5 separate regions of the Homo sapiens genome follow, and regions 2, 3, 4 and 5 are each linked to region 1. Evidence: promoter capture Hi-C in 16 types of primary human blood cells and fetal thymus (Javierre and others, 2016). All regions are on one chromosome and are shown on one strand. The core of a region is centred on a gene start or on the middle of the fragment in contact, and the rest is flanking DNA. Distances in the headings are between cores, read along the strand shown.

What was found. The method cuts DNA at HindIII sites, captures the fragments that hold promoters and counts their contacts. A CHiCAGO score of 5 or more calls a contact.
Region 2: a contact is called between a fragment that was not itself captured here and the fragment with the promoter of LRATD2 in region 1, in 6 of 17 cell types (naive CD4 T cells, naive CD8 T cells, activated CD4 T cells and 3 more). The highest score is 7.1, in naive CD4 T cells.
Region 3: a fragment that was not itself captured here is called in contact with the fragment with the promoter of LRATD2 in region 1 in 4 of 17 cell types (M0 macrophages, M2 macrophages, naive CD4 T cells and 1 more); the score reaches 6.6 in M0 macrophages.
Region 4: a fragment that was not itself captured here is called in contact with the fragment with the promoter of LRATD2 in region 1 in 1 of 17 cell types (total CD8 T cells); the score reaches 5.2 in total CD8 T cells.
Region 5: a fragment that was not itself captured here is called in contact with the fragment with the promoter of LRATD2 in region 1 in 3 of 17 cell types (megakaryocytes, M2 macrophages and naive CD8 T cells); the score reaches 7.9 in megakaryocytes.

What each region holds. Positions count from the first base shown.
Region 1 is chr8:126,557,079-126,559,778 of GRCh38, forward strand. It overlaps LRATD2 (LRAT domain containing 2), which reads right to left and starts at 1,400. Exons shown (of 2, transcript NM_174911.5): 1 at 956-1,400; 2 at 1-407. The coding sequence starts at 311. LOC105375751 (a long non-coding RNA gene) reads left to right here and starts at 798. Exons shown (of 6, transcript NR_188069.1): 1 at 798-853. RefSeq lists an enhancer at 802-1,638 and a silencer at 1,353-1,532. The HindIII fragment of the contact is 2,746 bases long and covers 683-2,700 here.
Region 2 is chr8:125,730,179-125,732,878 of GRCh38, forward strand. No RefSeq gene overlaps it. Among named protein-coding and RNA genes, the nearest start is that of LINC02964, 210 kb to the left of the region's middle. The HindIII fragment of the contact is 4,498 bases long and covers 1-2,700 here.
Region 3 is chr8:125,713,226-125,715,925 of GRCh38, forward strand. No RefSeq gene overlaps it. Among named protein-coding and RNA genes, the nearest start is that of LINC02964, 190 kb to the left of the region's middle. The HindIII fragment of the contact is 387 bases long and covers 1,215-1,601 here.
Region 4 is chr8:125,690,338-125,693,037 of GRCh38, forward strand. No RefSeq gene overlaps it. Among named protein-coding and RNA genes, the nearest start is that of LINC02964, 170 kb to the left of the region's middle. The HindIII fragment of the contact is 6,595 bases long and covers 1-2,700 here.
Region 5 is chr8:125,918,244-125,920,943 of GRCh38, forward strand. No RefSeq gene overlaps it. Among named protein-coding and RNA genes, the nearest start is that of LINC00861, 32 kb to the right of the region's middle. The HindIII fragment of the contact is 5,423 bases long and covers 1-2,700 here.

The DNA of each region.
Region 1 (2,700 bases), core at 150-2,649:
AGCGCCGCCGAGCCCGGCGCGAAGCTCTTCTGGTAGATGCATTCGTCCCGGTAGAACACGGAGCATTCCACCTCGTGCAGCCGCGGATCGTAGGGCTGCGGCTGGGGCGGCGGCGGCCCGTCCCCACCGTCGGGCAAGCCGCCGCCATCTGGCCCCTGAGGCGGCGGCTGCGGCTCCACGTCCTCATCGTCATTGGAGAAAATGTAGGAGACCCCAATGCGGGGCCCGTCGTCCCGGTCCACGCCAGTCGGGTCGGCCGTGGGAACTTCCTTGTAACTTAGGTGGGTCAATTTCTCCACCTGGTTGCCCATCACGCTGCGGACACACGTTCACACCGCCGCAAGGGGAGAAAGCGAAACCAACTCCAGGGTCATTTGCACAGGTCCCCGGACAGGGGCTGAGGCTACCTGTTGGGAGAGGAAGGCAAGAAAGCCATGCAGGAGCCCCTCCGTGAAAAGGGCGTTTTGTTCCGAAAAAGAATCGGTGGGGGCTCAGCACCTGGAGCCATTTTAGGGGGAAGTCTCGGGTGTAGCGAGCTTTCCCTCGTTTCTCCACCTGTAAGGTCACGGTCACAGGAGACTGGGCAACTCCTGTTCTCCCTGTCCCCAGCCCTTCGCCTGGCCCTGGCAAAAGCCCATTGCATCAGCAGCTTCTACTGCTTCCGCCTGCGCCCTACCTGCCAAGCTTGGGCAGGAAGAGGGAAGGAAAGAGAAACTTTACGCCAATCCCCCCCCTCCTCTGCTAACTTCCCCTCCCACCCTCGGGCCCTAACTAGCCCCGGGGACGCCTCCTCCCCACCAACGCATCCATCCCCAGAGGAACAAGCGAGGATCTCAGAGCGCGACCTGGACAGGTGAGTCACCCTACCTGGCTCACCTGCAGCGCTACCTCCTCCCGGCTCGCCCGCCCTTCCCCCGCGCCCGCCCTCAGGCTCGGGTTACCTGCACAAACTCACCCGCGGAGAGGTGAAGGCCGTGGGGCCTGGGGAAGGGCTCCCTGCCGCGCCCCGAGACTTCTAGGGCGAGTTTGAAGGTGTAGGCTCGGCAGTCCCTCCTCTCCCGGCGCGGGCGGCAGCGAGGCTGGGCAGAGGGCAGCGCAGCGGGCAGACTAGGGGCATGTCTTTCCCCCGCGGCTGCGTAGCGCCCCGATACTTGAAGGCGGGGGGCAATCCCTGTTCACACCGCGCTTCCTCCCGCCAGCTGGGGCTGCTGCCCCTCCTCAGCCAGCTCTCGGGGGAGGTGGGGCGCGAGGAGGAGAGGACGGCAGCCTCGCAGCCTGGCGGCAACAGCTCCCGCTTGGGCCGGGCGAGCAACAAGCACCGGAGCTGGAGGGACGGGATTGTAGATCCGGCTCCGGGCTCCCGGGCGGGAGCGCAGCCCGTGGCATTTAAAGAGACAGGCGCTCACTCCCCGAGCTCGGGTCTTTTTCACATTGCGCCGAGCGGCCGGGAGCCCCGCCCCCGCCCCGCCCACTCGGGCCTCGGGACTCCGCCCGGCCACGCCCCCGCGCCGGAGCGGGTTTAAATCCCCCTGTAAATAATCCACCCGCCGCCTGGGGCTGGTGCTGTGAGCTCTGCTTGCCTTCCGAGACAAGTTAGAAGGCAAACACAACTTGCCAGTGTGGAAATGAGAAAGGGAAGGAGAGTTTGGTGTTTGCGCCTTTTCCCTTTGACCTGTTTTTTCCCAGAGTACCTGGAGAAGGAGGAACAGTCGTTTCTTTTCTTTCCTGGAACATATTTCTTGCCCTAAAGGTCACAAGAAAGGATTCTTCACCAGGACAGCTCGAAGAGTGCGTCATCCTAGAGGTGTTTTCAGAGTTAGTAGTGGGAAACTTTGGGGTAGAAAAGAAAATCGCAGAAAAGAAACAGTATAAAACAGAACGAAGACTTATTCACTGACTGGGTCCCAAGACCACCGCTCTGTTTATTAGATACCCCTGGAAGTTAGTACAAAGTTCATAACCTCCGTTATTTCCAGAGAGGTACCAGTTCGTTGGATAGTGAGAGAAGCGTGCAGCTCTGACTGCTTTTTTTTGGGGGGGTGGGGGGTTAGGGGATGTAGGAATTGCCTAATTCCTACATCCTAATTCTAATTGTCCTTAAATTAGAAACAAATTAGCAGAGGCCCTAGTGGATATATTTCCTTCCTGTTGACTTAGGGAAGTGACAGGAGACCAGTAATGCCTACTAACCTCCACCACAAAAGGACACTTCCACCTCTCCACTGGTTTCGTTTCTTTTACCTAAATGTAGGCTACCAAAGTGTTTTTTTTGTTGTTGTTGTTGTTTATTTTTTTAAAATAATGGGTCCGGTGAGGGTGGAGGATTAACAGCTCTGTTTACAATAAACAAGTTTAGGCACTACTGCAAGCACCCAGACTTATTCGTAGGGGACTTAAGAATGCGATTCAAGACCTATATTCTGTCTTCAGTTGCTTTCTTTTGACTAATTTTTTCCAGCATGTATAACCAGCCAGTGGAAACAGGAATATACTAGCACTACTGTGATCCTTTCTAGTTTAGGAGAAAAAAATAAAAATCATTCTACTTATGTAATTTTGAGTCCAAACAATCAATATTGGCAGGGCTGTGATAGAAATTAGTCCTTCAGCAAGTCTGAAGTATAAGTTAGATCAACATGAGACTACTGTGTGCTGTGCGATTCTGTTTCAATAATTTCAGACTGGCTGGCCTCAGGCGCA
Region 2 (2,700 bases), core at 71-2,570, 830 kb before region 1:
ACATAATATTAATAAGGATGGAGCTGCCGAAAAAACCAAAGTCATGTGAAAACCTGTGATCAAATCAGGAAGTGATTCTCACTCAGGGCCCAGTACCCAGGGTCCCTGCCTGTCTTGGTGCTGGTCTCTGAAACTCATCAGCTTCCCTCCCCTTCAGGAGATGTTCCCATCTTCCAGGTCCCTGCCCTGTGGGAAGTTTCTCCCCTCAAGCCCAGCTGAGGAACCTGCCATGGTCAAACCAAACTGTGTGTCCTTGCTCCCCACTGGGACGAATCCCAGGAACTTTGAGTTTCAGGTTTTTGCAGTGGGTCACTTAGGAGAATCAGATAACCGATGTCTTCAAAACAGTGAACATATCATAGGAGAGAGAGCATAAGCTCTGGAAATGCAGGGACAGGATCGGAGTCCCAGCTCTACTACCACTGCCTGGCACTGGAGCTGCCTACAGGTTATTTACTTGCTTGGCTATGCATCAGTTTCTTTATCAGTAAAATGGGTAATAGCACCTACCTCATAGGATTAGATGAGATAACTTTGAGTAAAGTAATGATTTTATTGAAAATTTACTCTGTTCTAGGTACTGTGTTAAGCACCTTATATAGCAGTGTTGTCCAATAAAAATATAATGTGAGCTACATATGTAACTTAAACATTTTTGTTTGAAACACTAACATTGTAAATTACCACATATTAATATAACATAACATGTCTGTTAACATTAACATAAAATTTTTATATTAATAATATGAAAAAACAGATGAAATTAATTTTAATAGTATATTTTATGTAACCCCATACATGGAAAACATTTGAACATGTGGCACCAACAAATGCTCAAAAGCTACATGTAGACAGTGGCTATCATTTATATTACATGTGTAATATGTATAACAAATGTGTACTATATATATTCATGTGTAATACATATAACAAATGTGTACTATATATATTTTACATTTTTATGCAATATTTTGAAAGTTCTGTAATTATTTGAGAAACACATCCAATAGAATGTTACAGTGATACTTAATACTTGTTCACCATTATGTGCCAAGAACCATGCTAAGTATTCATTTATATTAACTTAGTGAATTGTCATAAACATTCTGGGGATCAGGAACAGAGGGATGGGAAAAGTGATATGGAAGGAGGGAAAGCCAATCCCATGGGTGCATTCTTGAGCAGGTCACTGCTGCGGGCAGTTGTGTTGCCGCTATGGGCAACAGTTGGGATGCCGCCTTGAAATTGTTAACGGAAGACGTAGAAAACTGTGTTTTAGTTTTCATTCGTCATGTAGGGTCCTGGAGGTGCGATTGTGCTTGCACTTCTGGTTTGCACATGCACCAGAGTGGCTGACCAGACTCCAGCATGCAGCTCATAAGGTGAGAGGCCCCAGACAGAAAGCAAGAGATGCCTGCAGCAGAGGCAGGGTGCTATCACTAGTTGCTATGATAATGGCCGGAGCACAGTGGTGGCTGAGAGGATGAGAGATGGGGATCAAAGGTGTCTGACACATCGTGTTGCTGGTGTGCAGCCCGTGGGGTGGGTTGCCAGGGCGAGAGACGTGAGTGTGTCTATGGAGGAACTGGGAGATATTTTAGAGTGCATCTCTCACATTAGGAAATAGTGCAGTGGAGAGACCCCAGAGGGCTTCCTATGTGCACCCGTGGGACAGCGAGCATTGGAGTACCAACTACTTGGAGCTCATAGGTGGCCTACAATGATCCGTCAAGTAAAATAACTTTTTCCTTCCTCCCTGGAGAAGACATCTCCCTTCCCTGGAGACGGAGACGGGGGAGGGAAGGACGGAATGTAGCAGCCCCTCCTCTCTCCAATTTCTTCAGGACAAGATACAGTGAGCACTGAGAGGAGGGGGCAATGCGAAGGCCAAATTAAACAGGACACTGTGTCTTCAGGTGGACTGAGGAGGAGGCTTAACATAGCCACATTGAAGGCAACAATTAGAGTAAATGTTTCATGTTTATACTTCACCAAGTTTAGAATGTTCAAACAAGGGCCACATTGTTATTTAGCTATTTATCTCATAAGACAACTGAATTAGCAATACTTCCTTTACTTGGTAGGAGACTCCTTGGTTTGGGTACTGTCAGGTATGCATGCCACCTGCAATGTTAAGAGTATTTTATGATGGTAGTGTTAGCCTCCAATGCCCTCAGGAGCCAGACAGACGCTGGAGTGCCTCCTATGTGTGAAGGAAGCAGACCTGATTGGGGCTGATGAACCAGAGATCCACATCCTATTTAAAGGAGTGCAGGCACTGTTCTGCTCCAGCATGTGGCCTTGCAGAAACAGCAAGGTAAAGAATTGGGATTGTTGGACATGTATGCAAAACACCTGGCTTAATTGCTCTTCCTCCTCCTTCCTGGTATTGGAGGAATTAATGCCATCAATTCTTTACCCTTCTCTGTATCCAGCTCTTTTTCATGTAATTTTGCAATGTCCTTCCACTGTGGTCAGCCACACTTCCTCACTTCTTGTCTCTGGGCTCGTCTCATTCTTAGGGCTTGTTTTGTCCAATGGCTTGTTAGTGAGTGAGCACAGATGGAGGCTTGGGATGCACTTGAGTGACTGGGCTTGTCTATTTCCTTGCACCTCTGCCATTACCACAAGGGGAACATGCTTGAGCTAACAGCTGATCCCAGTAGGGGAAGGAGAGAGGCCTGCAGACCTGAGCCACAC
Region 3 (2,700 bases), core at 158-2,657, 840 kb before region 1:
CTCTTCCTTGCCTTCTGCCATGACTGTGAGTCTCCCCCAGCCACGTGGAACTGTGAGTCCTATTAAACCTCTTTCTTTTGTAAATTGCTCCCAGTCTTGGGTATGTCTTTATCAGCAGCATGAAAACAGACTAATACAATGAGTGAGGCCCCCAAATCCTTTATATAGATGAAGTTCATGGGAGTTTGGGAGAGAGGGAGGAGATGTAGGCAGTTCCCAGGAAGGGGTCCTTCAATGAGCAAGTCTGCAGGGAAAGGATATCCTGGAAAGGCAGGAGTGCAGTGGAGGACAGGGCTGGGGGGAAGCTGGAGGCTTGCATGGCCAACACCAAGTTTAGTCTTCATATGATGGGCAGGAGGGATTGTGGATGGCTTTGGAGCTGAAGAGCATGATTCATTTTCTTTCATTTACCTTTTTAAAAATAGAAATTAGATTGTCTGTTGTTGCTAGAGTGATTTGGGGGAAAATGACAGAAGTCAGGGAGCCAGGGTAAGAGGCAGCTGCACCTGTTCACTTGTGTGTTAATGACATTGTTAGTGGGATGGAGGAGACCTGCTGAGCACAACGTTGGGAAGAAAATCTTCAAACACCAGTTACAAAAAGGGAGGCCAGGAAAAGTCATTTGTAAATGTGACTGTAAGGGTTTGAGCTTGTAAAAAAATGGGTCCAGGGCAGGTGGGTTAGTAAATTTAGGGAAGTGAGAGAAGTTTGGGGACTGCCACCTATGGTTTCTATTTCCTCAGTGACATTGAGATGAGGTTATCAATCAGCTGAGGGTGAGCAGGGAAGTTCAGTGGAGTAGGAGAAATGAAGAGGCAGAATCAAGTATAAAATAATGGATTCTGAATAAAACACGAAGAATTATATGTACCTAGGTAAAAGATTGGGAACCCCTGGAATAAATCCTTGTTGTTTGCAATCATTAGTAAACAAAATATTGCCTTTCTTTTTAATCTTTCCAATCTGTCATTTGCAGCATTTTTAATGTGAAATTTATTGGTTCCTTTCTATCCTGACTGTTTGAAGTGTGAATGTTAGCTGGTTTACCTGCTGTGTCTGTTTTACTGTTCTTTTCAAATAATCAGCTTTTGGCTCTTTTTTTTCTCTGTTTTGTATTTTTGTTTCCAATTTACTAACTTTTCCTCTTGTCTTTAGTATGTATTTTCCTCTACTTCTGTGGATTTATTTTGTTGTTAGTTCCCTAAATGTTTGCAAGCTTATCTCATTAATTTTCAATCTTCCCTCTTTTCTAATGTAATATTAAAGGCTATAGTTTCCCTCTAAGTACCACTTTAGGTGAATTCTGCAAGCTCGATGCAGTGTTTTTGCTGTCATTTAGTTCTAAACGTTTTCTGATTTACATTTTGATTTATTCTTTGATCTTTGAAATCTTTAGAAGTGTAACTAAACATTTCTGAATATGATTTTCTTTTGCTATTGTTTTTAAGTTAGCTGCATCGTGCTTGAGAGTGCTTGGTCAGTAGGATTGTCTCTCTTTTTGAGATGTTAGGAAACATTGATGACCACCATCCAGATCAGAGGTCAGCAAACTGTGGTGGCCCATTAGCCAAATCCTGACCACTGCCCGTTTTTGTAAGTAAAGCTTTATTGGAATGCAGCCATACATATTCATTTGTGTATTGTTTATGGCTTCTTTTGAGCAGAGGTGAGTAGTTGCCACAAAGACCATTTAGGCCTGTGAAGCCTAAAATACTATCTGGCCTTTAACAAAAACCTTGTCAAATCTTGGACTGGATCTGTCATTGTAGTAGGGTTGCAAAATGGTGATTCTATATTCCTTCTATATTCCAGTTCTATAACCTTTCTTCATTTAATAGATGGGATCATTTAATAATAAGATATTTTCCCTATTAATTATTTGGTTACCCTTAGGTATTGTTTGCACGAGAAAGGCAGGATGGATGCTTGAGTTTTTCCTTTTTCTTACTAGCTTTCTAAAAATAGAAGTTGATGGCTGGGCGTGGTGGCTCATGCCTGTAATGCCAGCACTTTGAAGGCTGACACAGGTGGATCACCTGAGGTCAGGAGTTCGAGACCAGTGTGGCCAACATGTCAAAACCCCATCTCTACTAAAAATACAAAAAAAAAAATCAGCTGGGTGTGGTGGTGGGTGCCTGTAATTCCAGCTACTCGGGAGGCTGAGGCAGGAGAATTGCTTGAACCTGGGAGGTGGAGGTTGCAGTGAGCCAAGATCGTACCATTGCACTCCAGCCTGGACAATAAGAGTGAATCTCCGTCTCAAAAAAAAAAAAAAAAAAAAAAAAAAAAAAGAAGTAGTTGATTTCCTTATTTTTTTTTGACAGAGTCTGACTCTGTCACCCAGGCTGCAATGCAGTGGCACCATCTCAGCTCACTGCAACCTCCACCTCCTAGGTTCAATCAATCCTCCTGCCTCAGCCACCTGAGTAGCTGGGATTACAGATGTATGCCCCCAAGACCCGCAAAATTTTTATATTTTTATTAGAGACGGGGTTTCACCATGTTGCCCAGGCTGGTCTCAAACTCCTGGCCTCAAGTGATCTGCCTGCCTTGGACTCCCAGAGTGCTGGGATTACAGGTTTGAGCCACTGCACCTGATCAAATATGACCGTTTAAAATTACCATTATAGGACTTGGCATGCTGGTTCACGCTGTAATCTCAGGGGTTTGGGGAGGCTGAGGTGCGAAGATCGCTTGAGG
Region 4 (2,700 bases), core at 86-2,585, 870 kb before region 1:
AAATATTTTTAATGGTTTTGTAGTATTGGCGTAACATAACCTCTTTAAATCGATCCCTAATTCTGAATATTTAGATTTTATATATATATATATATATATATATATATATATATATATATTTTTTTTTTTTTTTTTTTTTTTTTTTTTTGCATTTTTCGGTAGAGACAAATTCTTACTTTATTGTCCAGGCTGGTCTCAAACTCCTGGGCTCAAGTGATCCTTCTGCCTTTGCCTCCCAAAATCCTCAATTATAGGCATGAGTCACTGTAGCCGGCCTATTTCTAATTTTTGTTAGTATAGATTACACTTTTTTTGTTGTTGTTGTTGAGATGGAGTCTTGCTCTGTTGCCCAGGCTGGAGTGCAGTGGCACCATTTCGGCTCACCACAACCTCCGCCTCCTGGGTTCAAGCGAGTCTCCTGCCTCAGTCTCCTGAGTAGCTGGGATTACAGGTGTGTGCCACCATGCCTAGCTAATTTTTGTATTTTTAGTAGAGACAGGGTTTCACTATGTTGGCCAGGCTGGTCTCAAACTCCTGACCTTGTGATCTGTCCACCTCAGCCTCCCAAAGTGCTGGGATTACAGGCGTGAGCCACTGCGCCTGGCCCTGGATTACACTTTTAAAACAATATATTTACAGATATTTTTATACAACTGTATAGGAACCTTTATATAATTTTCCTAATATTTGCTTTGAAGAGATTCCTTAACTTTTTTTTTTTTGAGTTAAAAGAAATGAACATTTCGAAGATTCTTTATACATCTCATCTTCACAACTTGTTTTAAACCTCTTCCATAGCTTCAAGCTATGGTCCTGCTTTCTGGTTCTATTCTTCATCTTACTCCCTGGATGCGATGCCTTCATGTTCTTGGCCTCCTTTCCTGACACTATCTACGCACCTGTTTGTTATTCTGGGCTATAAATTTCCCAACCAAATCTGGCTTAGCTCTAGGTCCTGCTGGAATTATCTTCACTCCTCTTGTGGGAAATTGGATGGGAAGGAGAAATTGGACTCCTTCGTGAAAATTCCCTCCACATATTCATCCAGTAAAAATGTATGAAATGCCCAGTGCCTGGCACTTCTGGAATTCTCTCCAAAGATGCCATCCTGTTCCCACACTGTCATGGGAACAATAAAGGGAACCGTGTGGCCTCCTGCCATCTGCGTGTCTCCATCCCAGGGCGAATGCTTGATTAGTGGGGTGGTACTGCAGGCCCGGATCCTCAGGAGTCATCACTTTTCTTCTTGCCACAACTCTTCTTTTGCTCAACAGTGCCTTAATGGCTCAGTCACTTAAGAGTGCAGTCACTTAATAGCCCTTTCTATCAATTTTCCCATCTGCAGAATGGGGACTGTGATTCTGGGCTGACCGGGTGTTGTGAGCATTAATGAATGTTTTGAGGCATGTTGAGATCTGTAGATAAACAAACCTCAAGAAGTACAAAGTGCTAATGAGCCTGTTGCTGAGCAGCTCGCTTTGAGAGACTGCTTTCTTTCCCACAGAGGAGGAATCAGTTCCTAATCCCTGGGCACAGATGTTTTCCAGCTGCTTTTGGATGAACCAAAACAGTGGATTCCAAAGGGAATTTTCCCTGGACACATGCAGCTCTCAGGTTAATGGAAACCTCAGAATTAAGTCTAAAGCAACACCAGAGTAACTCCCAAGTTAGTTTGCCCGGTGACAGCACCACTTGGTAGAGTTTCTTGGCACTTTCTGCAACAGTGTTTGCCTGAGTGTGGAATGTATACTACTGATGACACACAGATGCCTTTGATGGTGCGTGGATGAACTTTTAATAACTTTTCACAGTTATGCATTTTTTGGTGGTTATTTTCTATCTGTAGCAAGTGATACTATTTATTTATTTATTTATTTAATTATTTGTCACAACAAGAATAACTGACATTTGGGCTGGGTGTGGTGGCTCACGCCTGTAATCCCAGCACTTTGGGAGGCCGAGGCAGATGGATCATGAGGTCAAGAGATCGAGACCATCCTGGCCAACACGGTGAAACACTATCTCTACTAAAAATACAACAATTAGCTGGGCATGGTGGTGCACACCTGCAGTCCCAGCTATTTGGGAGGCTGAGGCAGGAGAATTGCTTGAACTCAGTAGGTGGAGGTTGCAGTGAGCCGAGATCGCGCCACTGCTCTCCAGCGTGGGTGACAGAATGAGACTCCATCTCAAAAAAAAAAAAAAAGAATATCTCACATTTACTGAGGGCTTACTTTGTCCTGGGTACTGTTGTAAGTGCTTTACAGCAAAGCATTTAATCATCACAACAGCCTTATCTTTAGATATTCTTATTATCCCCTTTGTACACATGGGGATGTTGACACACAGAAACTTTAAGGAGTCTTACAAACTGTCTAAATTTACATAGCTGGCAAACAGTGGAGATGGGGTTTCTATCAGACAATTTTGGCTCCAGGGCCCATGTTCCTGTTAAACAGCCTGTCATATTTCCTTTCAATATATTTGCATTTGTGGTACTGGTATAAAGGATATTTAAAAACAGATTATTTAAAGTTACAAAAGCATGTTGATTGGAATAAAAATGATGTATAAAATCTGAGTTAAAAATAATGAGATGGTTTGAAGATATGGTGGATATTGTGATGTTGGAATCAATGACTGAAGGGCAGTGCGCCCTAGCGGGTGGCCTGGTGACCACCGGGGCCACTATTCTCTAGA
Region 5 (2,700 bases), core at 101-2,600, 640 kb before region 1:
TGCAACTTCTCACCTGTACTCTGATATTACTTTCTATGGCTTCTCATGGTTTGACTTTTATTTAAGCTGTGTGCCAGTGGCAAGGACAATATAATGTGACACTTAGAAAAGGGTGGACTTTGGAGACAACTGGAATGTATTCCTTATTCTGCCTTTTCCTATCTGAGTCATTTTGGACAAAATTCAGCACAGCTTAAGATTCACATTGTTGATGTGAAGACGAAAGTAGAGCATGTGTGGCAAGTTCTCAGAATGTGTTGTGGTACATGGGAAGCACACAATATATGGTGGCTGGTTAGATGGATTAAAAACAACATAAATGGGCCGGGCAATGTGGCTCACACCTGTAATTCCAGCACTTTGGGAGGCCGAGGCGGGCAGATCATGAGGTCAGGAGATCGAGACCATCCTAGATAACACAGTGAAACCCCATCTCTACTAAAAATACAGAACATTAGCTGGGCGTGGTGGTGGGCACCTGTAGTCCCAGCTACTTGGGAGGCTGAGGCAGGAGAATGGTGTGAACCCGGGAGGCGGAGCTTGCAGTGAGCCGAGATTGTGCCACTGCACTCCAGCCTGAGCGACAGAGTGAGACTACGTCTCAAAAAAAAAAAAAAAAAAAAAAAGAAAAGAAAATTGTAGTGTTGATAAAGAAAACTAATCTCCACTCATTAAATTAATATTTTGGTGCTGTTTTAGAACCTCTGTCTGGGTACGTTTTTTCATTTAACTGCACTCCAGCCTGGGCGACCGAGCAAGACTCCGTCTAAAAAAAAATAAAAAACCGTAAATGAAGGAATGAATGGCAGTGACCTTTGTTCGTTTATAGGATCACCTCTCCAAAATTGCGCTCTGTGTCGGTTCAAAATGTAATTTTAAAAATATGAAAATGAATCTCATAAAGACTTGAGAAAAACAAGTATATCTGACTGAGTTCCAGGCTGCCCCACTGTAGTAGAAAAACCTGACTAGATCACACTGATTATAATGTTGTATACAACTTCTTAAAAATAATGGCCACTGAGACCAGAATATGTTGATTATTAATGAGCTGAAATATGGGGTCTATTGTGTTGTGAGTTCCTCCAACCTATTTCATGAATGAAATAGAATCATGGAGACCAACAGGAGACCTGGACTCGAAATCACAGGATTCTTATCAGAATTTCAATTTCAATTCCACCATGTGTAATTATATATGTGACCTCTATATGCAATAAGCTGTAAATTTCACAGAACTACCAAGACTCCAGGAAGCGGACTCGGAATTGGAAATTTATTTGTGTAAAGTTTATTGGGGGTGTTTTCTGGACCAGGACCTGTCAGGGGGTCAGAGAAGCAAGACTGGGTCAGACTGGTTACAGGTGACTTCCCAGGCATTTCTGGAGGGCTGAATTGAAGAAGGAATGCCAAGACTTTGAAGCCTTTCAGACTGTCCCCAGGAGAAGGGTGTAGCATTAGACAGAGCAGCTCTCTTTGACCAAGAGAGGACATTTCCTGAGAAGAAACTTGGCTGTGAGATATCAACAACCCATAATTCCAGCAGCCATGGGCATGAGTTTCTCAGTTCTGGAATCTGAGTGGAGCACTACAGCATCCACTACAGTGGTGAAAGAAGGATTCGAACTCAGGAAACCTGACCCCTCATGACTTCATTATAATTTCTTTCCTTGCAACTCAATGACTATCATCATTTTCACTTTACAGTTCAAAATATAGAACCTCAGAGTTAAGTAACTTGCCTAACATGCCAGAAATTGTAGGTCCCAAGATATACAACGAAAGCCCATGCGCATTCCCTAGGACCATATATCTGCGTACTTTAATAGCAAATGAAAAGTCACTCAATAGACTGCTAAATTGTTCAACATGTAATCGTTTGCTAAATCTCAGAAGATGGAAAGGGATTATGTGTGTATGTACTTGCACGTAATGTTTTAGAACAGGCAGATAGATATTAGCTGTTTCCCCCTGGATGGTGGAAACACTCAGGACTTCAGAGGAGTAGCAGCAGAAAACCATTACAACACACTTCATATCAAGCAGATTTTGCAAGTCAAGTAATTGCTTGTAAACATAACACCATGGAATAAAACCTGATATATATTATTTGGACTTCACAAAATAATTCCTATTATTTCTGTAAGTAATTTTTGTGTATCTCTTTTTTTTTTTTGAGACAGAGTCTCGCTCTGTTGCCCAGGCTAGAGTGCACTGGCGCGATCTCAGCTCACTGCAAGCTCTGCCTCCCAGGTTCAGGCCATTCTCCTGCCTCAGCCTCCCGAGTAGCTGGGACTACAGGCACCTGCAACCACGCCCGGCTAATTTTTTGTATTTTTAGTAGAGACGGGGTTTCACTGTGTTAGCCAGGACGGTCTCGATCTCCTCACCTCGTGATCTGCCCGTCTCGGCCTCCCAAAGTGCTGGGATTACAGGCGTGAGCTACTGCGCCCGGCCTTTTGTGTATCTCTGATGTTATGATGTACTCACTAGGAATATGGAGGTAAATGGAGCTTATAGATTGGTGACAGAGTTGTGTTGGATTTGGACTTCAATACTGCAAGAGGTTTCTGGTGACGTGGTCACCCAGAGAATATTATAAACAGACGGAGAATAGTCTTAAAACTCAGCCCACTCCATCATCCCAAATCTAAGATAAAAGGAAGGGAAGGAGGGAGGGGATTTACTGAAAGCAATAAC